Linked DNA regions of Homo sapiens: regions 2, 3 and 4 are each linked to region 1. Evidence: promoter capture Hi-C in human tissues and cell types (Jung and others, 2019). All regions are on one chromosome and are shown on one strand. Each heading gives the region's core, a stretch centred on a gene start or on the middle of the fragment in contact. The rest is flanking DNA. Distances are from core to core; before and after follow the strand shown.

Evidence for each region. The method cuts DNA at HindIII sites, captures the fragments that hold promoters and counts their contacts. A contact is called where the count stands out against the background at its distance.
Region 2: a fragment that was not itself captured here is called in contact with the fragment with the promoter of IRF3 in region 1 in 1 of the 25 tissues and cell types used here (pancreas).
Region 3: the fragment with the promoter of SNRNP70 here is called in contact with the fragment with the promoter of IRF3 in region 1 in 1 of the 25 tissues and cell types used here (dorsolateral prefrontal cortex).
Region 4: the fragment with the promoter of LIN7B here is called in contact with the fragment with the promoter of IRF3 in region 1 in 6 of the 25 tissues and cell types used here (adrenal gland, bladder, dorsolateral prefrontal cortex and 3 more).

The regions. Positions count from the first base shown.
Region 1 is chr19:49,662,649-49,669,007 of GRCh38, forward strand. IRF3 (interferon regulatory factor 3) reads right to left here and starts at 3,209. Exons shown (of 8, transcript NM_001571.6): 1 at 2,983-3,209; 2 at 2,026-2,198; 3 at 695-866; 4 at 540-610. The coding sequence starts at 2,190. It overlaps BCL2L12 (BCL2 like 12), which reads left to right and starts at 3,285. Exons shown (of 7, transcript NM_138639.2): 1 at 3,285-3,419; 2 at 4,037-4,151; 3 at 4,371-4,513; 4 at 6,203-6,289. The coding sequence starts at 4,045. RefSeq lists silencers at 3,188-3,337, 3,378-3,457. The HindIII fragment of the contact is 43,433 bases long and covers 1-6,359 here.
Region 2 is chr19:48,803,262-48,809,620 of GRCh38, forward strand. It overlaps BCAT2 (branched chain amino acid transaminase 2), which reads right to left. Exons shown (of 11, transcript NM_001190.4): 2 at 3,739-3,813; 3 at 3,256-3,456. LOC105372432 (a long non-coding RNA gene) reads left to right here and starts at 4,108. Exons shown (of 3, transcript XR_936017.4): 1 at 4,108-4,138; 2 at 4,708-4,838. RefSeq lists an enhancer at 3,231-3,902. The HindIII fragment of the contact is 4,226 bases long and covers 1,275-5,500 here.
Region 3 is chr19:49,082,375-49,088,733 of GRCh38, forward strand. It overlaps SNRNP70 (small nuclear ribonucleoprotein U1 subunit 70), which reads left to right and starts at 3,077. Exons shown (of 10, transcript NM_003089.6): 1 at 3,077-3,262; 2 at 4,031-4,187. The coding sequence starts at 4,041. RefSeq lists enhancers at 2,753-2,822, 3,173-3,262. The HindIII fragment of the contact is 18,802 bases long and covers 1-6,359 here.
Region 4 is chr19:49,111,171-49,117,529 of GRCh38, forward strand. LIN7B (lin-7 cell polarity scaffold B) reads left to right here and starts at 3,200. Exons shown (of 6, transcript NM_022165.3): 1 at 3,200-3,271; 2 at 3,679-3,797; 3 at 4,090-4,161; 4 at 5,093-5,302. The coding sequence starts at 3,235. RefSeq lists a silencer at 3,020-3,599. The HindIII fragment of the contact is 18,984 bases long and covers 1-6,359 here.

The DNA of each region.
Region 1 (6,359 bases), core at 1,959-4,458:
TTTCCATATCCTTTTCTGGAGACTTCATATGGACCAGGTCTGTTCTCAGCAACGCAGGGAGGTCAGGCTTGAGCTCTGCCTTCAAGGGGCTTCCAGCCTGGGGACAGAGCCAGCCATGGCATCAACAGCCAAACAAACACTAATGAACGCCAGGTGCTACCATTCCAACCCAAGGATCTGGCTCTATGCAGGTAAGACCTGGGCAAAGCAGGCTGGGTAGAATTTCAGAGGGGATGCTCCCCCAGCTTGGGCCTCAGCAGGATCAAGGTGAGGGAGTTTTTCAGTTCCCAAGAGGCTGACAGCCCCCTGCGAATCGAAATCCATGAAATCCCGGGAAGGTGTGCTCGGGCCTTGAATGCTGGGTGAAGACTTGGAATTTTCTCCTGAGGAGACCGGGGCAGGGACAGACAGGGTCAGCACTGGCTCAGGTGAGGGGCAGGCTGGAGGCAGGGGAGTGGGGGGATCGTCTAGAGGGAGAGGACAAGGCCCATGGAGACAGGTCGGAGACTGAGGGGCATGAAAGTTGGGCACATTCTCACCTGGGTATCAGAAGTACTGCCTCCACCATTGGTGTCCGGAGAGGTGTCTGGCTGGGAAAAGTCCCCAACTCCTGTTGAGAAAAGTGGTGAGGGGAGTAGGAGTGCCAGGAACCCTTGGGGCCCCAGCCTCCCACACGAACCCCAAGCTGGCAGACCTGAGTTCACAAACTCGTAGATTTTATGTGGGTCGTGAGGGTCCTTGCTCCGGTCCTCTGCTAAACGCAACCCTTCTTTGCGGTTGAGGGCAGAGCGGAAATTCCTCTTCCAGGTTGGCAGGTCTGGCTTATCCCTCCCGGGAACATATGCACCAGTGGCCTCGGCCCAGGCCTGGGGCAACAGTGGTGTCAGGATGGTGGGGGAGGACGACTTAGATCCTGCTCCTGGGGCCCTAACCCTGTCTCCCGAGTCCTAACACCACCCTCTTTCCCTGGCAAGTTCTAACTCTGCAAGGTCCATCCCCAAATCCCCCCGTCCCACCTACCTCCATCCCCCACCTCTAGTTTTCAAAAGGCTTTTTTTCTTTTTGAGATGGAGTTTCACTCCTGTCACCCAGGCTGGAATGCAATGGTGCAATCTCAGCTCACTGCAACTTCCGCCTCCCCGGTTCAAGCGATTCTCCTGTCTCAGCCTCCTGAGTAGCTGGGATTACAGGTGGGCACCACTACACCTGGCTAATTTTTGTATTTTTAGTAGAGATGGGGTTTCACCATGTTGGCCAGGCTGGTCTTGAACTCCTGACCTCAGGTGATCCGTCCTCCTCGGCCTCCCAAAGTGCTGGGATTACAGGCATGAGCTACTGTGCTCGGCCTCTTCAAAAGCCTTTGAAACCTCTTTGGTTTTTGTTTTGTTTCGCTTTTGTTTTTAAAGAGATGGAGCCTATGTTGCCCAAGCTGGCCTCAAACTCCTGGGCTCAAGCGATCCTCCCGCCTTGGCCTTGCAAAGTGCTAGGATTACAGGTGTGAACCACCGCCCCCGGCCCAAAAACCTTTTCTTTCTAAGCCAGGCTTCCAAGTCCAACTTGGTGTCTAATCCCGTGCACCACCTGCCCCGCGACACCCTCTGTGATAACCCCGCCCCTCACACTGTTTACCACCTCTGGCATATACTAATTCGGTAGTTAGGAACCTCAGATTTGGGGCTCCAGGCCTCACCTCTGATGTTTCAAGAACCATCCCCCAGTATCTATCCTACAACCAAGAGCCCCGGCCTCTAGAAAGCCCCAAACCCCCAGGATGCATTTCCTTTGCGTACTAACCGGCTTTCCCGGTTTTATTCCCGTAACCCTGCAGCTCCAACCCTGCTTGCGCCCCACCATCAGTCAGCGGATCCGGCTAGCCCCGCCCCTCCCGTTCTAGCCCCACCCACCAGCGTTGGCACGAGCCCGCCCCTCGCGCGCCACCTCCGCCTTCTCAGCCGGGCCCACTAGGAGTCCTTTCCGCCCAGCGCGCAGCTCCGGGTTTCCAGCGTCCCAGGTCGTCGCACGCACCTGGAAGATTCCGAAATCCTCCTGCTGTGCATCCTGCCGTAGGCCGTGCTTCCAAGGGATGCGGAAGCGCGTGCGGCTCTTGTTCACCCAGGCCACGCCCTCCAGTTGCCCCAGGTCCAGCTGCGACACCAGCCAGGGCAGGATCCGTGGCTTTGGGGTTCCCATGGTCCGGCCTGCGCGTATAGGGCATTTCCTGGGCGCGACCGGCCTCCCCCGGACCCACCTGGCCTGGAGTTTCCGCACCCAGACCTCCTTCTCACGGGCCACGGCACAGGTCCTTCACCCATATTTTCGGGGGTACAAACAGGAAACCTCCTCTTCCCATCCTCCCATCCTCCCGAGAGGCTCTCTAATCAGCTAGGGTTCCTTCCCATATCCATGGCACATCCTTCCCCAGCGTCTTCAGTGCAGACCCTCCACTCCCTCAATTCCGCCAGTATAGACCTCCTCCCTCCCCCACATCATCGAAAGTAAGTATCCCCACTTTCAGGGTAGCATCCTCTTTCCCTAGTTATTTCAGTGCAGAATCGATTCACGTGTAAGCCTCTACCTCCTGCACTTACCCCAATGTAGACCCCCTTCCACAGTCCCCCTACAGAAGATCTCCCAAAACATTTCCAACACAGAACTTCCATTCAATTCCCCTCCGACTGCCCGCCTCCCTCCTCCAGGACAGAGCACGCCCCAGGTTTCGAGACTGAACTACCCCCATCTACGGAGTCCACCCCTCCCTCTCTAGAACCCCCTCAGTGTAGACGCCTCCTCTTTTCCTCTTTCCTCCCTACTTTTTCTAGTTTTTCTGCAGCCGACCTCCAGCGTCGGCCACTGTAGCTCCTTCCTTGCTCCACTTTCCCCAGAGTACACAGCCTGCCTTTCCACTCTCCGTGCAGACCCATCCTCTTTCCCGCTCCTCGCTCTCGGACGCCACCAACGCTCTCCCGGGCTCTTCCGCGTTACCTACGATGGAAGGTCGGGGCGTGCGGGCAGCTGGAACCCACCCCTGTCTTGGAGCTCCGGGTAGCTCTCAAACTCGAGGCTGCGCACCCCCTTTCCCGTCAGCTGAGCTCTAGAGCGCTGGGGCTTTCTTTTTGATCGACTTCTTGAAATAAAACCAACTTTATCATTCTTTGGGTAACAGACCCAAAAGCCGATGGGACGGCCCGCTGGGCTGTTCCCGCCCCTATGCCCTTTTTTGGGTTTCCGGCCAGAGGCATGCTGGGAGCGTCACATGCAAATTGAGCGTGCACCCAGCGTTCCGCCCTTTCTACGCTGGGCCGGTTATCGACCCGGCCCAGTGCGCAGGCGCGGGAAAGTTGAACTAATAAAGTTTGTACGAGTTCAGTGGAGGAGACCGCAAGTTGAGTGGAGGAGGCGGCGGTGGGGCCCCGGACCAGGTCAGCGGGGTGTTGACGAGGGGTGGGGTGAGGAGGGAAGAGGAGGGGGCCGGGATCCAGTGGTGGGCACCCCAGTCCCGCTTCTCTGATATCCAAGGGTCCAGGGTCCTCTAGATTCCAGCAGGGGTCGGAGATTTGGAACTACACCTCACAGCAGGCTGCGCGGCGAAGAAGCGCGGACCTAGGGGAAGATTTGCCCTGAAACCTCTTGGGATTGGTAGTTCCCGATGCTTTAAGGGTTTCAGGAGTTTGGCATATGCCTCTTATAGAATCCAGGAGTTGGGGCGCTAAGCCTCTTCTTCCTGGGAGACCTAAGGGTCTGGGGCTCCAGTTCCTTTTTCTCTAAGACTCAGAAGTCCAGGACCCCAGCTCCCTCCTCCTTTAGACCCACGAATCTGGGCACCCAGCCCCACCACCTTTCCTTGGATCGAAGAGTCTTTTTCCTGATCGCTTTTTCGTCTGAGGACTCAAGAGTCTAGGCCCCCAGACCCACACTCTCCAAAGGACCCAGGAGTCCAGGCCCTCAGCACCTTCCTTGGGACTCACAAGTCCTGGTCCCCAAGCCTCCACTTCTTGCTAAACCCTTGGAGTCCAGTCCCTAACCCTCTCTCTCACAGGTGCCTCCATGGCAGGCTCTGAAGAGCTGGGGCTCCGGGAAGACACGCTGAGGGTCCTAGCTGCCTTCCTTAGGCGTGGTGAGGCTGCCGGGTCTCCTGTTCCAACTCCACCTAGGTAAGAGGAGTGGCCCTTCTCCCCCAGGGGCCAGCATTTGAGGCTCCCTCCTAACTCTTGCTCCTGGTCTCAGTCTGTCTCCTCTCTTTATATCTGGCTCTATTCTCTGTCTTTGGGGTTTTGGAGAGAGGTCCTCAGCGGGGGAGGGAGGGAGTTGGGGAAAGAGACTGCTTGCAGGGGATCTCTGGTGGGGTCAGTCTCTGAAGTCCTCCTCTCCAGAAGCCCTGCCCAAGAAGAGCCAACAGACTTCCTGAGCCGCCTTCGAAGATGTCTTCCCTGCTCCCTGGGGCGAGGAGCAGCCCCCTCTGAGTCCCCTCGGCCTTGCTCTCTGCCCATCCGCCCCTGCTATGGTTTAGAGCCTGGTAAGAGATTTCCATGATCATCTATGAAGCCGGCAGAACACGGGATAAGGTGCTAGTTTAAGATCACTCAGCTAGGGGGTGGCTGTGTGGAGTCTCTAGCACCAGCCTTCAGGACAGAACCGTCCTGTCCTCTCCCCTCCCCAGTTAGATTTCTGTCAATTCTGTGGGTTGGCTTTCAGAGAGCATTTGGTCAATCTGGTTGTTGTCTCTTTCCTTCCATAACTACTTCCCTGCCCCTAGGACTTTTGTAGCCAGGAATACCCCTGATAGAGGGGCAGAAGGGCTGGTTTTCAATCACATCTCCCTGGCTGTTTTAGTTGCGTGACTCTGGGGAAAATGCTTTCTCTTCCCTGCTCCCCTGTTTTTCCAATAGCAGAGTAGGAATTGGGGAGGAGGTCACTGGACTTGATCAAGGTGACCCACAAGTTTCCTCATAGGTGTGAACCTGGACAGACTAGTAATGGCTGCTGGGAGTGCTAGCTTGAAAAGGGGTTCACAGCTTGGGAGAGGAAGTGCTGTGATCAATTGGTGATGTCTGTAGTGAGTGAGGGAAGGGGATACTAACAGTAATGTCTTGTGTTTGCCTTCCTTGGATGAGATCATCTTCAAGGTCTAGTTGAGCTCTGACAGTCTTTTGGAGACAGATTGTTGCTCTGTCACCCAGGCTGGAGTGCAGGGGTGCAATCTCGACTCACTGCAATCCCCACCTCCTGGGTTCAAGCGATTCTCGTGCCTCAGCCTCCCGAGTGACTGGGATTACAGGTGCACGCCAGCATACTAGCTGATTTTTATACTTTTAGTAGACACGGGGTTTCGCCACGTTGGCCAGGCTGGCCTCAAACTCCTGGCCTCAAGTGACCCTCCCACGTCGGCCTCCCAAAATGTTGAGATTGCAGACGTGAGCCACCGCACCCTGTCAGCTCTGACATTCTTTTTTTTTTTTTTTTTTTTGAGACGGAGTTTCGCCCTTGTTGCCCAGGCTGGAGTGCAATGGCCCGATCTCGGCTCACCACAACCTCTACCTCCCGGGTTCAAGTAATTCTCCTGCCTCAGCCTCCCAAGTAGCTGGGATTATAGGCATGCGCCACCATGCCCGGCTAATTTTTTTTGTATTTTTAGTAGAGATGGGGTTTCTCCATGTTGGTCAGGCTGCTCTCGAACTCCCAACCTCAGGTGATCTGCCTGCCTCAGCCTCCCAAAGTGATGGGATTACAGGCGTGAGCCACTGCGCCTGGCCCCAGCTCTGACATTCTAAGTCCAGTCTGAGGATCTCATAAAGTGAAAAGTACAAGGGTTTTGGCATTTTTAACCAAGTTTTCTCACTGGGCCTCAGTTTACCCCATTATAAAATGGGAATCATGGCCAGGCTTGGTTGCTCACGCCTGTAATCCTAGCACTTTGGGAGGCTGAGGTGGGTGGATTGCCTGAGGTCAGCCTGGGCAACACGGTGAAACCCCATTTCTACTAAAATACAAAAAATTAGCCAGGTATGGCGGCGTGCGCCTGTAGTCCCAGCTACTCATGAGGCTGAGGCAGGAGAATTGCGAGACTCCGTTTCCCAAAATCAATACATAAATAAATAATAAATAAAATGGGAATCATTGCCACCTGCCAAGGTAGTTGGGGGAAGGAGAGAATCCGTAAGTTTCCAATGTCCTGGAAACCTGTCATTAACTCTTTTCACCCCAGGCCCAGCTACTCCAGACTTCTATGCTTTGGTGGCCCAGCGGCTGGAACAGCTGGTCCAAGAGCAGCTGAAATCTCCGCCCAGCCCAGGTGAGGCACAGAGGAGCCCCAGAGAAGGATGGCGGTGGGAGGATAGTCAGGGTTCTGCCCCCAGCCAAAT
Region 2 (6,359 bases), core at 2,138-4,637, 860 kb before region 1:
CAATCCCAGGACTTTGGGAGGCTGAGGCAGGAGGATCACTTGAGCTTAGAAATCTGAGATCACCCTGGGCAACATAACAAGACCCCATCCCTAAAAAAAAATAAAATAAAATAAAAATTAGCTGGGCATGGTGGTGCACACCTGCAGTCCCAGCTACTTGGAAGGCTGACGCAGGTGGATCGCTGGAGCCTGGGAGGTCAAGGCTGCAGTGAGCCAAGATCGTGCCACTGCACTCCAGCCTGGGCTACAGAGCAAGACCCTTTCTCAAAAAAAGAGTCATAACAACAACAACAAAAATGCAGGTGGCCAGGCTTGGTGACTCACGCCTGTAATCCCAGCACTTTGGGAGGCCGAAGCAGGTGGATCACTTGAGCTCAGGAGTTCAAAACCAGCCTGGGTAACATGGTGAAACCCCATCCCTATTATTTAAAGATAATAAATAAACAAATACAGGTAGACAAAGACAGAAAGCAGACTAATGGTTGTCATGGGCTGGGGTGAGGGACAATGGGTACTGATTAATAGGTATGGGGGATTAAACAGTTCTGAACCTTGATGGTGCTGATGGTTGCATAACATTGCCTGCCACTGAATTATGGGCTTTAAAATGGTTGGAGGCTGGGCGCCGTGGCTCACGCCAGTAATCCCAGCCCTTTGGGAGGATGAGGCGGTGGATCATCTGAGGTCGGGAGTTTGAGACCAGCCTGGCCAACGTGGTGAAACCGTGTCTCTACTAAATATACAAAAATTAGCCAATAGTGGTGCATGTCTATAATCCCAGCTACTCAGGAGGCTGAGGCAGGAGAATCACTTGAACCTGGGAGGCAGAGGTTGCAGTGAGCCAAGATTGTGCCACTGCACTCCAGCCTGGGCAACAAGAGTGAAACTCTATCTCATAAATAAATAAACAAACAAACAAACAAATAAAATGGTTGGAATCCCACATTTGATGCTGTGTGTTATTATGTATGCGTATTAGTACCACAATAATAAAAAATAAGGCCAGGCATGGTGGCTCACGCCTGCAATCCCAGCACTTTGGGAGGCTGAGGTGGGCAGATCACTTGAGGCCAGGAGTTCGAAAACAGCCTGGCCAACATGGTGAAACCCTGGCTTTACTAAAAATACAAAAATTAGCCGGGTGTGGTGGCGGGCGCCTGTAATCCCAGCTACTGGGGAGGCTGAGGCAGGAGAATCACTTGAACCCGGGAGGCGGAGGTTGCAGTGAGCGAGATTGTATCATTGCACTCCAACCTGGGGGACAGAGTGAGACTCTGTCTCTAAATAAATAAATAAGAAAAAATAAAATAAAAAATAATACACGTGGTCGGCCTGCAATCCACACATGCCCTGGAGTGTGGGTGACATAGGGACAGCATTGTCCTACTCCCTCATCCTCCCCCTTCCGCCCCCTGGACCCGCGGGATCACAGCAGTGCGTTCTGTCTGCCAGGGCCACAGGCTTCCTCTGCTCTCACTCAGCTGAAGAAAAAGTACTGGGTCCCCAGCCAGAGGACAACTGCTGTGCTGGGCTGAAGGGAGAAGTGTGTGGTGGTCTCCAAGTAACCAGCTTCCTGGGGGCTCAGCAGGCGGAATCCTGCCCATCACGCTTATGTACTGGCAGGAGTGTCTGGCTGTGATTGGAGGTGTGTGTGCTCTGTACAGAATCGACTGGTGTTGCTTAGATGTCCAGAGTGGGAGGGGAGAGGGGAAAAAACAAAACCTTAAAATTCTGGAAAGGAAGGAAGAAAGGAAAAAACAGAGGGAGGGAGGGAAAGGAAAGAAAGGAATGGAATAAAAGTCTTCATGCCACAGAACTGTGCCCTGGAGGACTAAAATCAGCCAACCTGCTAACCAGTTACTGGAGCTGTAAGATGCTCACTTAAATCTTGTCTCAACCAAAGTTTCCTTCTGAAGACCTTGCTTTCAGCCGCAGCTATAAGTCCTAAAACCAAATGCCTCCTGGATCTGTCTCCTAGAAACTTCACAGTATCTCAGGCTCACCAGGTGCCACAAAGCCGCTCCTCCTCCTGGGTCCCCATGTGGGGACAGGCCCAAGGTCTACCTGGTCACCAGCCCGGCTTCCTAGCCTGCAACTCTTGCCCTCCACATGGCCTGAGAGGGCTCTTACTATACCCAGACATGGCCCTGCCCCTCCCTTCCTCAGAGCCCTCAGTGGCTCCCAGCACCCTTGGACAAGGCCCCAGCCCCTCAGCTCCTCCATGGCCCTGACATTTTCAGCCTCCTTAACCATGCTCCAACACCGCAATTTCTCCCAAATGTACCAGGCTCTACTCCCGTTTGGGGTTTGGATTGGCTGTCTCCACTCCTGCCATCCCCCACCGACTGTCCCCCTTCCCGCCATCTCCAACTGTCCCCTCTCCCGCCATCCCCCCTGGGCTGTCTCCTCTCCTGCCATCCCTCCCCCGGCTGGCCCTCTCCCACCATCACTTCCCCGGCTGTCCCTCTCCCGCCATCCCTCCCCCGGCTGTCCCTCTCCTGCCATCCCTCCCCCGGCTGTCCGTCTCCCGCCATCCCTCCCCCGGCTGTCCGTCTCCCGCCATCCCTCCCCTGGCTGTCCCCTCTCCCACCATGCCTCCCCTGGCTGTCCCCTCTCCCGCCATCCCTCCCCTGGCTGTCCCCTCTCCCGCCATCCCTCCCCTGGCTGTCCCCTCTCCCGCCATCCCTCCCCTGGCTGTCCCCTCTCCCGCCATCCCTCCCCTGACTGTCCCCTCTCCCGCCATCCCTCCCCTGGCTGTCCCCTCTCCAGCCATCCCCCTGGCTGTGCCCTCCCCCACCATCTCCCCCCCCAATGGCTGTCCCCTCTCCCGCGATCATCCTGGCTGTCCCTCTCCCGCCAGCCCCCCGGCTGTCCCCTTTCCTACCATCACCCTGTCACCTCTCCCACCATCCCCCTCTAAGCTTCCCTCTATGCCAGAAGAAGCCATGCTTTCTTTCAAGTGAGGCTGGGGGTCTCTACTGGCCTCCACAGGGCCTCCATCAGAGCACAGATCATACTGAGTTATGCCCACAGCATGGGGTTTTCCAAGTGAAGGAACCGGGTCTGCTCATCTCGGGGAACCCAGCATCACCAAGCATGAGCCTGGAGCATGGAAGGCCTCAGAAAACAAATGGTGAATGCACAGAAAGGAGAAACACACAACAAACAAACCAAGAGAGGTACACCTGGCAAGAGACACAGCAAGGAGGAGGAGATGCAGACAGGGACAGGGAGAGAGGCCGGCCGCCATGCCACCTGCAGGGAGTAGTGGAGGCTGGAGGAGGCTGGGTGCAGCGTGAGGTTCTGGAAGGGCTGGATTCGGGGCTGGCCCCAGCCCTTGTCATTCCATTCCACCATCAGCATGTGGTCGGTAAATGTCTTCCCAAACACCAGGGGCTCGCCGGGGCCAGGCTTCTTATGAGGCTTCTGTGTCATTTCCAGCTGCAGGTCTGCAGCCTGAGGAAAGACAGGGGTATCCTAGAATCTGGCCACAACCTCCCAGCTGAAAAACTACAACTCCCATGAAGCCCTGGGCCTCAGACCCATAGAGAAGAAGGACCTGTCACCCTGGAGGATTCTGGGACATGCAGTTTCATCCCTTGTCTGCGGCCCAATGGCAGGCTGTTAAGCTACCACCACTCACTGCCATCTCTGGGCTGTGGACCTTTTGGAGATGCCCAAAACCAGCTGCCAGCCCCCTCCTCTCTCAGAGCCAAGCATCGAGTTCCCTCCTTTCACCTTGAAACTGGAGGAGGCATATCTTCTGGGACCACACAGAAGCCAAGGGACAGAGAGAAGCTTTCGTGCCCAGATCTGGGTGGAGAAAGAAGTGAGAGAGGGGGTGAGTGGGGCACAGCAGGGGCCCTGGCAGCTCGCTCGCCACCTCCTGCACTTGGAGGTCCCACTGGCCTGCCTGTTCTGTCCCAGTTTCAGTCCATTCTAGACGGGGCAGGTGGTCCTGAAGGAGGCCAAGTCCCCTCCCTGCCCTGACGAGGGCTCGCTGGAAAGAGCTGAGTCAGCTCCCGCCCCCTCCTCCATGCTGCGGCAAAGTCAAACGCAAGCGCCTCCCACCCCAGAGACCTTTGGTCGCAGCCTGGAGATCAGCTCAGACAAGAAAACAACCAGGGAAGGCACACAGGTAAGTGAAGGCCTCCGGGTACCCAAGTGCTGACAGGCCTTAGAAGACCAAGGACCGACAGGTCCTGCTCCCCCAGAGCTCAGGGGTGCAGACCCCAGGCCCGCCTCCCTCAGACCTAAGTAAGAGTCCAGACTCTAGCTGCCTCCTCCCTCAGACCCGAAGTCTGGGCCCCCAGCCCCTCCTCCCTCAGACCCTGGAGTCCAGGCCTCAGACCCTCCTCCCTTACATCCAGGAGTACAGGCCCCACCCCTCCTCCCTCAGACCCAGGAGTCCAGTTCCCCAGCCCCTCCTCCGCCAGACCCAGGAGTACAGGTGCTTATTCTCTGAAGGTATTCGATCAACTGGGCTCTGATTACCTGAAATACAAACCCATTTTGGCAGTGACTCCAATTCCCTTCAGCCCCTGGGGCTGAGGGGCAGCTACAGGGGCCTGGGGAGCCACTGCAGTCCTCACTGCATGAGGCTCAGGCGGGTCCTCCCAGAGGGGAGTAGGAAGAGCAGGTCTGGCTGTGTCCAGCAGGCTGGGCCCTCTCTGGTGACCTTTGACCTCACAAGGCCTCTTTCCCCAGCCCTGTGGGGAGGCGTTGGGGCGTGAGGTTGAGAGAGACAGAGTGGCCTGGCCTGGCCTGCCCTGTGAGCTGGGTGAGTTGGCACTGATTCTGGAAGATGGACGTGAATGGGCGTGGTCACTTGTCGCTAGGTGAGTTGCTGGGAGATGGGCCTGCAGCGTGGTCTTGCTGGTGTGAGGCTCCAGGGATTCCGGGGTGATCAGAGCGTGGGTCCCCAGATTGCCTTTGGGTGGCGACATCTAGACTGCTCAGCCTTGCAGCCATGCTTCTGCCCAGAGGGATAGGACACCCACAGTATGAGAGACACAAACACAGTGCGACAGCCAGCCTGTGGGCAGGAGAGCTGCCCTCAGAGCCAAGATGAAAAAAAGAGAGTAAGAGATGGAAGAGGAAGGATGAGAAAAAGAAACACAGAAAGGGGCGCACAAACAGAAAAAAAAAAAAACAAAAACAGAAATTGACGCCAAGAAACAAGAGATGCCAAAATAGATCTAATCATAGAAAGAGGCCACACGCAGTGGCTCGCGCCTGTAATCCCAGCACTGTGGGAGGCCGAGGCAGGAGGATAGCTTGAGGCCAGGTGTTCAAGACCAGCCTGGGCAACATAGGGAGACCCTGTCTCTACAGAAAATACAAGTTAGCTGGGTGTGGTGGCGGGCGCCTGTAGTCCCAGCAACTTGGGAAGCTGAGGCAGGAGAATTGCTTAAACCCAGGAGGCGGAGGTTGCAGTGAGCCGAGATGGTGCCACTGCACTCCAGCCTGGGCGACAGAGCAAGACTCTCTGTCTCAATTAAAAAGAAAAAAAACAAAGAAAGAAAGTAGGCAGCTGGCTCAGTAGCTCATGCCTGTAATCACAGCACTTTAGGAGACAGAGGTGGGAGGACTGCATGAGGCCAGGAGTTCAAGATCAGCCTGGGCAATATAGCAAGACCCTGTCTCTACAAACAATTTAAAAATTAGCCAGGTATGGTGGCACACACCTGTAATTCCAGTTACTCAGAAGGCTAAGGTGGGAGGATCACCTTGACCTACTGGTCAAGGCTGTGGTGAGCTACGATCACACTGCTACACTCCAGCATGAGTGATAGAGTGTCTCTCAAAAAAAAAAAAAAAAAAAAAAAAAAAAAAGACCAGCATGGTGGCTCATGCCTGTAATCTGAGGCAGGTGGATCGCTTGAGCCCATCTACTCGGGAGGCTGAGGCACCACAGTCACTTGAACCCATGAGGCGGAGGTTACAGTGAGCCGAGATCGTGCCACGGCACTCCAGCCTGAGCAACAGAGCAAGACTCGGTCAAAAAGAAAAGACGAGACAAAGAAATAAAGTACGTTTGGGGGTTCACAGGGCAGGTCTCTATAATGTGATAGAACCTCCATTATGTCCCATACAGCCCAGGAGTATCACCATCAAAGACCAGGAGTGTCACTGTCAAAGCCCAGCAGTGCCCTCCATACTCCAGGACTGTCCCCATATCACGGCCCCGGAGAGACCCCATCATACCGCAGTCTGCCCTTGTCACAGCCCACACATGACCCCATCACGTCTAGAACTGCCCCCTTTATAGCCCAGGACTCTCCCCCATCACAGACCAGGGCTGTTCTATGATGGCCCAAGATGCTCCACATCACAAGTCCAGATTGTGCCTGTAACTT
Region 3 (6,359 bases), core at 1,827-4,326, 580 kb before region 1:
GAGGAGACATTGGGGCTGGACTTTGCTGCCCAAGACTTTGGGAGCCCACTCCTTGCACCAGTGTGCCTTGGATGCAGAACATGGAATCAGGGATTATTTTGGAGCTTTAAAGTTTTTTTTTGTTTTTGTTTTTGTTTTGAGACAGAGTCTTTCTCTGTTGCTCAGGCTGGAGTGTAGTGGTGCAATCTTGGCTCACGACAACCTTCGCCTCCCGAGTTCAAGCAATTCTTCTGTCTCAGCCTCCTGAGTAGCTGGGATTACAGGCACCTGCCACCACACCTGGCTAATTTTTGTATTTTTAGTAGAGATGAGGTTTCACCATCTTGGCCAGGCTGGTCTTGAACTCCTGACCTCGTGATCCATCCACCTCGGCCTCCCAAAGTGCTGAGATGACAGGTGTGAGCCACTGTGCCAGGCTAGAGCTTTAAAGTTTAATGTCTTCTCTGCTGTGTTTCAGACTTCTGTTAAGCCTATTGTCCCTTTCCTTTGGCAGATTTCTCCCTTTTATTTTATTATTATTATTATTTTATTTTTATTGTTGTTGTTTTGAGACAAAGTCTCGCTCTGTTGCCACGCTGGAGTATAGTGGCACGATCCTGGCTCACCGCAACCTCTGCTTCCTGGGTTCAAGCAATTCTCCTGCCTCAGCCTCCCAAGTAGCTGGGACAACAGGCACGTGCCACCATACCCAGCTAATTTTTGTATTTTTAGTAGAGACAGGGTTTCACCATGTTGGCCAGGATGGTCTCGATCTCTTGACCTCATGATCTGCCTGCCTCAGCCTCCCAAAGTGCCAGGATTACAGGTGTGAGCCACCGTGCCCAGCCATCATTATTATTTTTTGAGATAGAGTCTTGCTCTGTCCAGGCTGGAGTGCAGTTGCACAGTCTCAGCTCACTGCAACCTCCACCTCCCAGATTCAAGCGATTCTCCTGCCTTAGCCTTCAAAGTAGCTGGGATTACAGGTGCATGCCACCATGTCCAGCTAATTTTTGTATTTTTAGTAGAGAAGGGGTTTCGCCATGTTGCCCAGGCTGGTCTTGAACTCCTGATCTCAGGGATCCTCCTACCTTGGCCTCCCAAAGTGCTGGGATTACAGGTGTGAGCCACCACACCCGGCCTATTTTATTTGTTTTTTTGAGACAGATTCTCACTCTGTTGCCCAGGCTGGAGTGCAGTCGTGCAATCTCTGCCTCCCGGGTTCAAGCAATTCTCCTGCCTCAGCTTCCCAGGTAGCTGGAATTACAGGTGCGTGCCACCACTCCCAGCTAATTTTTGTATTTTTAGTAGAGATGGGATTTCACCATGTTGGCCAGGCTGGTCTCGAACTCCTGACCTCAGGTGATCCGCCCACCTCGGCCTCCCAAAGTGCTGGGATTACAGGTGTGAGCCACCACACCCAGCCCTTTTCTTTCTTTTTTTTTTTTTTTTTTTGAGACGGAGTCTCGCTCTGTCGCCCAGGCTGGAGTCTAGTGGCACAATCTTGGCTCACTGCAGCCTCAACTTTCTCGGCTCAAACGATCCTCCCACTTCTTTTTTTTATTTGAGACGGAGTTTTGCTCTTGTCTCCCAGGCTGGAGTGCAATGGTGCCATCTTGGCTCACCACAACCTCTGCCTCCCAGGTTCAAGTGATTCTCCTGCCTCAGCCTCTCAAGTAGCTGGGATTATAGGCATGTGCCACCATGCCCAGCTAATTTTGTATTTTTAGTAGAGACGGGGTTTCTCCATGTTGATCAGTCTGGTCTCGAACTATTGACCTCAGGTGATCTGCCCGCCTTGGCCTCCCAAAGTGCTGGGATTACAGGCGTGAGCACTGCACTCGGCCTTTTTCTTGAAACATAAAATTAGTCATTTTAATTTGCAATAATTTCTGTAGTTATTAAACAGGCTATTGAATCCATCCACAAAACTTAAGATACAATACTTAAGAACAGGGCTCTAAATAACAAGTGCCAGCTCTCTGATCTCATGGCCAACAACCTGAGATTCCTGCCATCTGGTCTCAGTTCAGGACCTTTGCACTTACTGTTAAACACCGCCCCCCCGGCCCCACCCCAGATCTCGCTTCTATCTGTCCTTTATTCAAATGTTACCTCTTCAGAGGGGCCTTCCATTATCACCCTTTCTAAAACAGCCTCGCTCTCACTTCCCATCCCTTTATTCTGCTCCATCGTTCTTCATTATGCTGGCCACTATCTCAAATTATCTTTTATTATTTATTTATTTATTTACTTTTGAGACGGAGTCGCTCTGTCGCCCAGGCTGGAGTGCAATGGCACGACCTCGGCTCACTGCAACCTCCGCCTCCCGAGTTCAAGCGATTCTCCCGCCTCAGCCTCCAGAGTAACCGGGCTTACAGGCGCGCACGGCCACGCCCGGCTAATTTTTGTATTTTTAGTAGAGACGGGCTTTCACCATGTTGGTCAGGTTGGTCTCACACTCCTGACCTCAGGTGATCTGCCCGCCTCAGCCTCCCAAAAGTTCTGGGATTACAGGCGTGATCCACCGCGCCTGGCCTCAAATTATCTTTATTCAGTTAAATGCTTTTATTGTCTCTCCCAGTACAATGTAAGCCCTAGCAGCAGAAGACTTTGCTTTAATCACGTGCTGTACCCCCAAAGCCCAGACAGTGCCTAGCACACACGAGATGCTCGATGAATAGTTATTGATTGAATAGATTAGACATCAACGCAATCAGGCTGTTCACCTAGGGACTCTTTGCTAGGCGGCGGAGAGGTACGTTACAGTTCTCTACGCAAAACGCATGCGCGAAAGATCCGGGAAGTGTGATCGGAAAGGGGCGGAGCATCAGGGAGAGTCTCGCGGACATAGGCGGTTCGGCGCGGAAAGCGGGAGGTGGAGGGGCGGCTTGGGGCAAGCGCGCGCGCGCAGTGCAGAAGCCAGCCCCCCGCGGCTGAGGTACTCAAGGTGCCCAAAGGCGGGGTAGTGACCTCGCGCGTGCGCTGTGCCCGCGGCAGCGCCGGGTCCTAGTGTGTGGGTTGTTGTTGGCACCGCACGGCGCGTGCGCAGTGAGGACGGCGGAGGGATTTGCGGCCGGGACCCACCCCCTGCTCCAGTCGCTATCGGAGGCCGCGCGGGTGGCTGAGCAGCGGCCTGGTGCGCTCGCTTAGCGGGCGACGGAATCAGACGGACGTGGACGCCCCCGGAGTGGAAGCCGAAGCAGGAGTTGTTGTTGCTGAGGGGCTGCCGCAGCCGCCGCGAGCCTCCGGACAGACGCCAGAGCGAGGAGGGCGCTACGCGGTGAGTGAGTGTGACTGAGTGGCCCGACGGGGTGCGGGGCCGCTACCCAGAAGCCCCAGCGGTGGGCCCGGTCCTCTTCCCCGCGGCCAGGCCCCTTTCCCGCGTCCCCGCCACAGGTCCCTTCTGCATCCCTTTCCCGGACCCCGAAATCTCTGGGCACCCACGCCCGCTTCCCACAGCGCCCTCGTGGTTCCCTACCCACAGGCCCTTGCGGTGTGTGGCCTTTTTTCTTTTTCGTTTGTCTATGTTGTCCTGGACCCTTACCCATAATTCCTTTCGCTTTTTGCGGGGTCCAGGTCTGTTACCCACAAGCACTTGGTTTTGGGGCTTCGCTCCTTATGTTTCTCTTTCTTTGCTTGGAAACTTCCGATCCCCAGGACCCTGCAAACTGCATCTCGTAATTTGCCCTCCACGGCACGGGACGAGCAGCCACAGCTGCTCTGGGCCTCCCTCCTCGGGTCCTTGATTTCCCCAGAAATTCCCAGGGAACCTCTCCGCCCCACAGCTCGTGTCAGAGGACTCTGAGACTTCACTCTTCAGGAACCCTTTTCCAGCCGTTATTTTTGTTTTCTTTACCGGCCTTTCACCTCCACCCCCACCAAGACGTACCCTTTTCTCCGCAACACAGGACTGTTCTCTGCCCTTACAGAGCCTGTTTTAATTCCGAGACTTTTCTCCTGTCTTTCTTATTTTGAGAGTCAAGGAGTAACAGGGGCTTTCTCTGTGCAGACCCGATCTAACCTAAGGCTGTCCTGCTTCTGCTCTCAGACTTGGCAAGATGACCCAGTTCCTGCCGCCCAACCTTCTGGCCCTCTTTGCCCCCCGTGACCCTATTCCATACCTGCCACCCCTGGAGAAACTGCCACATGAAAAACACCACAATCAACCTTATTGTGGCATTGCGCCGTACATTCGAGAGTTTGAGGTGAGTTCACTGAGCAGGCCAGGAATGGTTTGGGTTCTGGGGAGCAACGGGTTGGATTTGCGAGTCCAGCTTCTGGCCATTTTGCCAGCTGCGTGATTTAAGCGAGGGGCTTAACCTTTGTGATCCTCAGTTTCTCTGTTTTAAATGGGGTTGGAGCCGGGTGTCGGGTGTGGTCGAGTGCGTCTGTAGTCTCAGCTACTCAGGAGGCTGAGGTGGGAGGATTGCTTGAGCCCAGGAGTCGGAGGCTGGAGTGCTTTGTGATTGTGCCACTATACTCCGGCCTGGGTGACAGAGCAGGACTTCGTCTCTCAAAAAAAAAATTTTTTTTTTAAGTGGGGTTGTGGCCCGGTACGGTGGCTCACGCCTGTAATCCCAGTACTTTGGGAGACCGAGGCAGGCGGATCACTTGAGGTGAGGAGTTGAAGACCAGCCTGGCCAACATGGTGAAACCACGTCTCTGCTAAAAATAACAAAAATTAGCCGGACATGGTGCCTGTAATTCCAGCTACTTGGGAGGCTGAGGCACGGGAATCACTTGAACCCAGGAGGCGGAGGTTGCAATGAGCCGAGATCGCGCCACTGCACTCCATCCTGAGCAACAGAACAAGACTGTCTCAAAAAAAAAAAAAAAAAAAAAGTGGGGTTGATAGTACACCTTTTGTAGAATTTTTGTGAAAATTCAGTGAGTAGTGGTTGAGGATTCATGCCTAACCCACACCATTTATCAGCTCTGACTTTGGGCAAATGTTGTATCCTCTTAATGCATTGGTTTCTTTATCTTTAGCAAGGGGATAGTGGTAGCACCCTTATAATGTTGGTGGAGAATTAAATGGCAAACTGTATGTCAGGGGGCTTGGCACCAAGCAGTCAGCACATGTCAGCCTTTGTTACTCTGTTTACTACTTTTATTGTTAATAAGATGATGTTCATAAAGGCTTAGCACCCAGTATTGAGTATTGGAGGGCTTAAAACTGCAGATGGGGATCTTAGCTCTGCACCTTTGGGATAAATAGGAATGAATGACTTAGGCTCCTGGACCTCTGTGTTTTTATTTGTGAAATGGGATGACAAGGGTCATCTCTTAGGTGCATCAGAGCACACCTGAGAAAAGCTGGCACACAGTCGGAAGTTACAAGAAGAACGTTCTAGCATTGGGTAGGTAAGGGCAGCTGGAGGCGAGGGAGTTGCAGAGCAGAATTTCGTAGATAACAGAAAGGTATGTCTTCAGTGGGATTTGCCACCCTTGGTGAACCCGCACTTGAGAGATATTACTGGCCAATTAACTTAATGGGCACAGGCGGGTGGTAGGTGCCCTTTGATGATGCAGGTCATGTGCCAGTTACCATTTATTTATTTATGAGACAGTTTTGCTCTGTTGCCCAGGCTGGAGTGCAGTGGCGTGATTTTAGCCAACTGCAGCCTCCGGTTCAAGCAGTTCTCCTGCCTCAGCCTCTCAAGTAGCTGGGATTACAGGCATGCACCACCACGCCTGGCTAATTTTGTATTTTTAGTAGAGATGGGGTTTCACCATGTAGGCCAGGCTGGTTTCGAACCCCTAACCTCAGGTGATCCACCCCCCTTGGCCTCCCAGAGTGCTGGGATTACAGGTGTGAGCCACCATGCCTGGGAGCCAGGTACTTTTTTTTTTTTTTTTTTTTTGACTTGGAGTCTCGCTCTGTTGCCTAGGCTGGAGTGCAGTGGCGTGATCTCGGCTCACTGCAAGCTCCGCCTCCCGGGTTCATGCCATTCTCCTGCCTCAGCCTCCCGAGTAGCTGGGACTACAGGTGCCCGCCACCACGCCTGGCTAATTTTTTGTATTTTTAGAGATGGGGTTTCACCGTGTTAGCCAGGATGGTCTTGATCTCCTGACCTTGTGATCTGCCCACTTTGGCCTTCCAAAGTGCTGGGATTACAGACGTGAGCCACCGCACCCGACCTTTTTTTTTTTTTTTTGAGATGGAGTATCGCTCTGTTGCCCAGGCTGGAGTGCAGTGGCGTGATCTAGGCTCACTGCAACTTCCACCTCCCGGGTTCAAAGGATTCTCCTGCCTCAGCCTCCTGAGTAGCTGGGATTACAGGCACGCGCTACCATGCCTGGCTAATTTTTGTATTTTTTGTAAAGACGGGGTTTCACCATGTTGGTCAGGATGGTCTCAAACTCCTGACCTTGTG
Region 4 (6,359 bases), core at 1,950-4,449, 550 kb before region 1:
GGAAGCCAAGGTGGGAGGATCACTTGAGCCCAGGAGATGGAGACCAGCCTGGGCAACATCGCAAAAGCCTGGTCTCTACAAAAAATACAAAAATTAGCCAAACGTGGTGGCGTGCGCCTATGGTCCCAGATAGGAGGCTGAGGTGGAAGGATTACCTGAGCCCAGGGAGGTAAAGGCTGCAGTGAGCCATGATTGCACAACTGCTCTTCAGCCTGGGCAACAAAGTGAGACCCTGTAACGACAACAACAACAAAACACACACACACACACACACACACACACACATATATATGTATATATAGAGAGAGAAATAGCATGTTACTTAGACACAGAAGCAGCTCTCAGACTAAACATCTGTAAGTTCCCTCTCACAGTGAGTAGAGTTAGGAGAGGTAGAGGCTGGTGCTTTTCACTATTATTAGCCTGTCTGTGTTATTTGATTTTGTTTTTAATCCCATAAAGACATTACTTTTTGCTAAAGAGAGAGCTACAGTGAAGGAGACAGCCAGACAAACCTGCTCTAGTCCTCCCACTTGGAACAAGCACTTTTCTGGACTCCATATCGCCACCCAGCAGAACCAGAAGAGCAGCCAACTTTCTCCAAAGTCTTGTCCACATCTCCTCGGCCTCTCTAGAGCATGATACCACTGACCACTTCCTTTTTTTATTTTTTATTTATTTATTTAATTTTCCAAGATGGAGTTTCGCTCTTATTTCCCAGGCTGGAGTGTAATGGCACGATCTCGGCTCACTACAACCTCCACCTCCTGGGTTCAAGCTATTCTCCTGCCTCAGCCTCCCAAATAGCTGGGATTACAGGCACCCGCCACCACGCCCAGCTAATTTTTTGTATTTTTAGGAGAGATGGGGTTTCATGAAGTTGGCCAGGCTGGTCTCAAACTCCTGACCTCAGGTGATCCGCCCGCCTCAGCCTCCCAAAATGCTTACAGGCGTGACCACCACACCTGGCCTCACTTTTTTTGTTTGTTTGTTTGTTTGAGACGGAGTTTCGCTGTTTTTCCCAAAGCTGGAATGCAATGGCATGATCTCCGCTCACCGCAACCTCCGCCTCTTGGGTTCAAGCAGTTCTCCTGCCTCAGCCTCCCCAGTAGTTGGGATTACAGGCATGCACCACCATGCCTGGCTACTTTTGTATTTTTAGTACAGACAGGGTTTCTCCATGTGGTCAGGCTGGTCTCCTGACCTCAGGCGATCCACCCGCCTCGGCCCCCCAAAGTGCTGGGATTCCAGGCGTGAGCCACCATGCCCAGCCACACTTCTTTTTAAAAACACTCGCAGCCAGACACAGCGGTTCGTGCCTGTAAACTCAGCACTTTGGGAGGCCAAGGCAGGGGGATTGTTTGAGCCCAGGAGTTCAAGACCAGCCTGAGCAACAAAGACCCCTCCATCTAAAACAAACAAAAAAAGAAGATAAAATTTAAAAACCCCTCTTCTCATGGTTTCTCCCACCTGGGTTTCTGCCTACATTTCAGGCCATTCTCTGCTGTCCTCCTGACTTTTAAGTGTTAGAGAGGTCTGGGGACCAGTTCTAGGCCGTCTTAATATTCGCTTGCCCCTGACATTCTTATCCACTCCGGTGGTTTTATTTACCACCTATGCCCCAATATTCAAACATGCCTGCAGACCAGGTTGCTCTTTTGAGCCCTAGACCTAGATCGATAGTTTCTCCCCATGGATTCTGCATAGGCTCCTCAAATTCAAAATATCCAGTATCGGCCAGGCAAGGTGGCTCGCGCCTGTAATCCCAGCACTTTGGGAGGCTGAGGCAGGTGGATCACTTGAGGTCAGGAGTTCGAGACCAGCCTGGCCATCATGGTGAAACCCCATCTCTATGAAAAATACAAAAATTTGGCAGGTGTGGAGGTGCACACCTGTACTCTCAGCTACTCAGGAGGCTGAGGCAGGAGAATTGCTTGCACCCGGGAGGCAGAGGTTGCAATGAGCCGAGATCACGCCACTGCACTCGAGACTGGGCAACAGAGGGAAGACTGTGTCTCAAAAACAAAATATCCAGTATCCCTCTTTCAGTGTAGACCATCTTAAAAATGGCACCAAAGCACCTTAATACTGTCTTCTCCTGCACCTCCCAATCCCCTTATATAGCCAAGCACCAAGGCTTGTCTAGACATTTCCCACATCTGCCCACCCATCTTCTGTGCTTTGGCCCTGGTGCTAGCTGCCACCTGGATGGCTGTGGTAGCCTCGTAAGTTGCCCCGCTGCTTCTCCTCTTGTTCTTGTCCAAACCAGTCTCCACAGTGGCTACAGTGATTTTTTTTTTTTCAATAGATACGAGGTCTCACTATATTGCCTATGCTGGTCTTGAACTCCTGGGCTCAAGTAGTCTTGCTGCAGCCTCCCAAAGCGCTAGGATTACAGGTGTGAGCCACCGTGCCCGGCCCCAGTGATCTTAAAATACAAATTTGAGGCCCAACCTGGGCGACAGAGCGAGGCTCCGTCTCAAAAATAATAATAATAATAATATAATAATAATACAAATTTGAGTGTCATATTTTTCTCTTAGGAGTTTGCATGAAGCCCCAAATCCTCAAGGCGCATATGCCAACGCAGGAGCCCAGGCATAAACTATCCTGCCGACCTTTTCACCTCATCATCAACCAATCCTAACTCTGCTTCCAGCCACGTGGGCTCTTTCTGGGTGGTGGGGGTGACCCAAGCTCCACCTCTTGTTCATCTTACCTCCCAGGACTGTATGTCAATGTCCCTCCTCTAGGATTTCCTTCGTTTTCTAGATCATCACCTCCCCACTCTCAGCTCTCATCACAGCCGTAGTTGGTCGTCTACCTCCCCTATAGACTGGAAGCTTCGTTCGGGCCGTGGGCTTGGCTGTCCTGCTCACCACGGTGTCCATGACTTGGGCTCAGATGTTTCACAAGAGTTTGTTGAATGAATGTGGGGAAAGGATGGACAGGGGATAGACGGGTGTGGAGGGCAGGCAGACACGGATCCTGAAAGGTACACACAGACCGAACCTGCAGTGGGAGGGGTCGCCAACAGGACCGACTGGCCGGGGCGGAGGGCAGGGCGCGGCTGGCGCGCGGCAGGTGGTCGGAGCAGTCGGGCGAGGGAGAGCTGGGCGCTCTCCAGGCTGCGCCTCCGCAGGGGGCGCCCGTGGCCCGGGGCGTGGCCTCGCGCAGCCCCGCCCTCCTCGCCGGCGCCAGGGCAGGCGGGCGGCTGGCAGCTGTGGCGCCGACATGGCTGCGCTGGTGGAGCCGCTGGGGCTGGAGCGGGGTAAGCGTGCGCCAGGGGGCCCTGCCCACCCGGGCCGCGGCCTACATACCCAGCCCCCGGTCCCCGCCCTTCCCGGGTCAGGCCAGTGCGGGTGGGCCAGCGGACCCGGAGGGGGTGGGCGGGGCGGGCGCCGGGGCCGGGCGGTCGCTAGGTGTGGGAGGCTCCCTGGGCGCGGGCCGGGACGCTGGGCGCCCGCCTTACAACCCGGCCTGTGGAGGGGTCCCGGGGCCGCAGGGCCGCTGGTGGCAGTCTCTCCTGCGCCACCCTGGACTCTGCGGGGTGTCCGACTAGGCTTCGGCCGTCCTCCCCGGACTGTGCGCTCGGCCTCACTCCGCCGCTCTCCTTGCTTCTCTGCGTCTCGGGGTCTCTGACACTCGGGGTTTCTGCGCCCCGCCCCCGCCCCGCAGACGTGTCCCGGGCGGTTGAGCTCCTCGAGCGGCTCCAGCGCAGCGGGGAGCTGCCGCCGCAGAAGCTGCAGGCCCTCCAGCGAGTTCTGCAGAGCCGCTTCTGCTCCGCTATCCGAGAGGTGAGGGGCGCGCGGCGCAGGGGCGCGAGCTGGTGGCCGTCGTCCTCCTCCTCCTCCTCCTGCTTGTCCCGAGCCCGGAGACTACGCCTCCCGGCAGCTCCCGAGGCGGCCCGCCTTGGGGTGCCAACGCTTCAGCTCAGGGGTTCTTCGGGAGTTGTAGTTTTCTCGGCCTTCTGTTGCGGGGGCGGGGCGGATCCTTGCGTGGTAGCGGGAGAGGGTCTAGAGGCCTGAACTCCTGCGTCTAGGGCTGGAGGAGCTGGCGACTCCCTGATGCCGCTGCCTCCTCACCCAGGTGTATGAGCAGCTTTATGACACGCTGGACATCACCGGCAGCGCCGAGATCCGAGCCCATGCCACAGCCAAGGTGGGCCCCGCACCCCATTGCTCCTGGTGTCTATTTAACTGCCTAGTCGAACTCAATATCTCCTTCATGCCAGTCATTTCTGTTTCCTCCCTCATGATTTTTGCTAAATCTATGTGCCACCTTACTATTAGTAAATAATCGCACATTTTTAACTTAAATGTCATACTAAGGCATCTTTAGCAACTGCAAATGGAAACAGTATGGCATGGTTGGTAGAAGATAACCTTCAACATCTGTACAGTGCAAACCAGGAAACTCATGGCGCTCTGACCTCTCACTGCACAATAGTTAGATGCTGCTACCTCTTGCTGCTGTCCGGAGGCTCAGATCTCCCTCCAGGCCTGGCTTTCCTCTGTTTAAAAGTAAGATTGAGGCCAGGCACGGTGGCTCACGCCTGTAATCCCAACACTTTGGGAGGCCGAGGCAGGTGGATCAGTTGAGGTCAGGAGTTCGAGACCAGCCTGGCCAACATGGTGAAACCCCGTCTCCACAGAAATACAAAAAAAAAAAAAAAGAAAGAAAAAGCCGAGCGTGGTGGCGAGTGCCTGTAATCCCAGCTGGATTACAACTCCGGAGGCTGAGACAGGAGAATCGCTTGAACCCAGGAGGCCGAGGTTGCAGTGAGCCGAGATCATGCCATTGCACTCCAGCCTGGGCAACAGAGTGAGACTTCATCTCAAAAAAAAAAAAAAAGTAAGATTGGCAAGTATGGGGTATTCAAGACACACACCAAATGGACACTTTCTCTTGCAAGTGAACAGAAAGAGACGCACAGTCATTACAGGGGGATCGTGCATTGTGCCATGACAAGTGTCCCATGCTTGGGGATAGTAACCCAGGCTAAATCGCTGTCCTCGGTCCACATCCCCCACCCCAGCTTTCATGCCTACCTGGAAGGGGCCCTCATCTTCAGTCGCTTTCTCTCTCCCAGGCCACAGTGGCTGCCTTCACAGCCAGCGAGGGCCACGCACATCCCAGGGTAGTGGAGCTACCCAAGACGGATGAGGGCCTAGGCTTCAACATCATGGGTGGCAAAGAGCAAAACTCGCCCATCTACATCTCCCGGGTCATCCCAGGGGGTGTGGCTGACCGCCATGGAGGCCTCAAGCGTGGGGATCAACTGTTGTCGGTGAACGGTGTGGTGAGTGGAGGGCTGAGGCAGGACTGGGGGACACAGTCTGTCTAACGTAGCATAGCCCCTGCTTTTGACATTCACTCAACACACACTGAGTGTTGTCTGTATGGCTAGCCCTGTGCTGGGCAATGTTACAGACTCTGAGAGATGTTGGCCTCAGCTCCCTACACTCAACCTTCTCTCTCTGGGGAGGGCAGTAGGCCCCGGCTGAAATAGTCCTAATCCAGAGACATAATAATGAGGAAGTGCAAAGTATTGTGACAGCCCAGATGTGGCACCAGGCCAGCATAGATACAGGAAGGTTTTGCAGAGTAAGGAACATTTGGGTTGGGTGTTAAAGGATGAGTAGGAGTTCTCCAGGCAAACAAGGTACAGGGTGTTCCTGCTGAGGGTACTGTAGATAAGGATACTGACTTGGCATACCTCTGAGCTGAAAAGAAAGGGCTTAGTTCTGATGGAGGTCTGGGGCATGCAGGTAATTAAAATCACTGTGGTTAGGCTGGGTGCGGTGGCTCACACCTGTAATCCCAGCACTTTGGGAGGCTGAGGCACGTGGATCACTTGAGGTCAGGAGTTCAAGACCAGCCTGGCCAACATGGTGAAATCCCATCTCTACTAAAAATACAAAAATTAGCCAGGTGTGGTGGCAGGCACCTGTAATCCCAGCTACTTGGGAGGGTGAGGCAGGAGAATCGCTTGAACCTGGGAGGCAGAGGTTGCAGTGAGCTGAGATAGCACCACTGCACTCCAGCGTGGGTGACAGAGTGAGACTCCCTCTCAAAAAAAAAAAAAAAAAACAAAACTCACTGTGGTTAGAGTTGAGGGAAGCATAACTGGAGAGATGGCTGGGGTCAGCCATACAGGACCTGAGTGCCAGCCTGAGAAGCTGGGACTTTGTCCCATGGGTGCTGGGGAGCTATGGGAGGGGTGAGCCAGGGATAAACTCAGCTTGCAGGTGCAGAAGGACCACTCTGGGACTCTATGGGAGATGAACTGAGGGGAGAGATTAGAAGCCAGGCCAGGGAGGAGGCTGGGGTAAGAGTCCAGAGAAAAGAGGACAAGG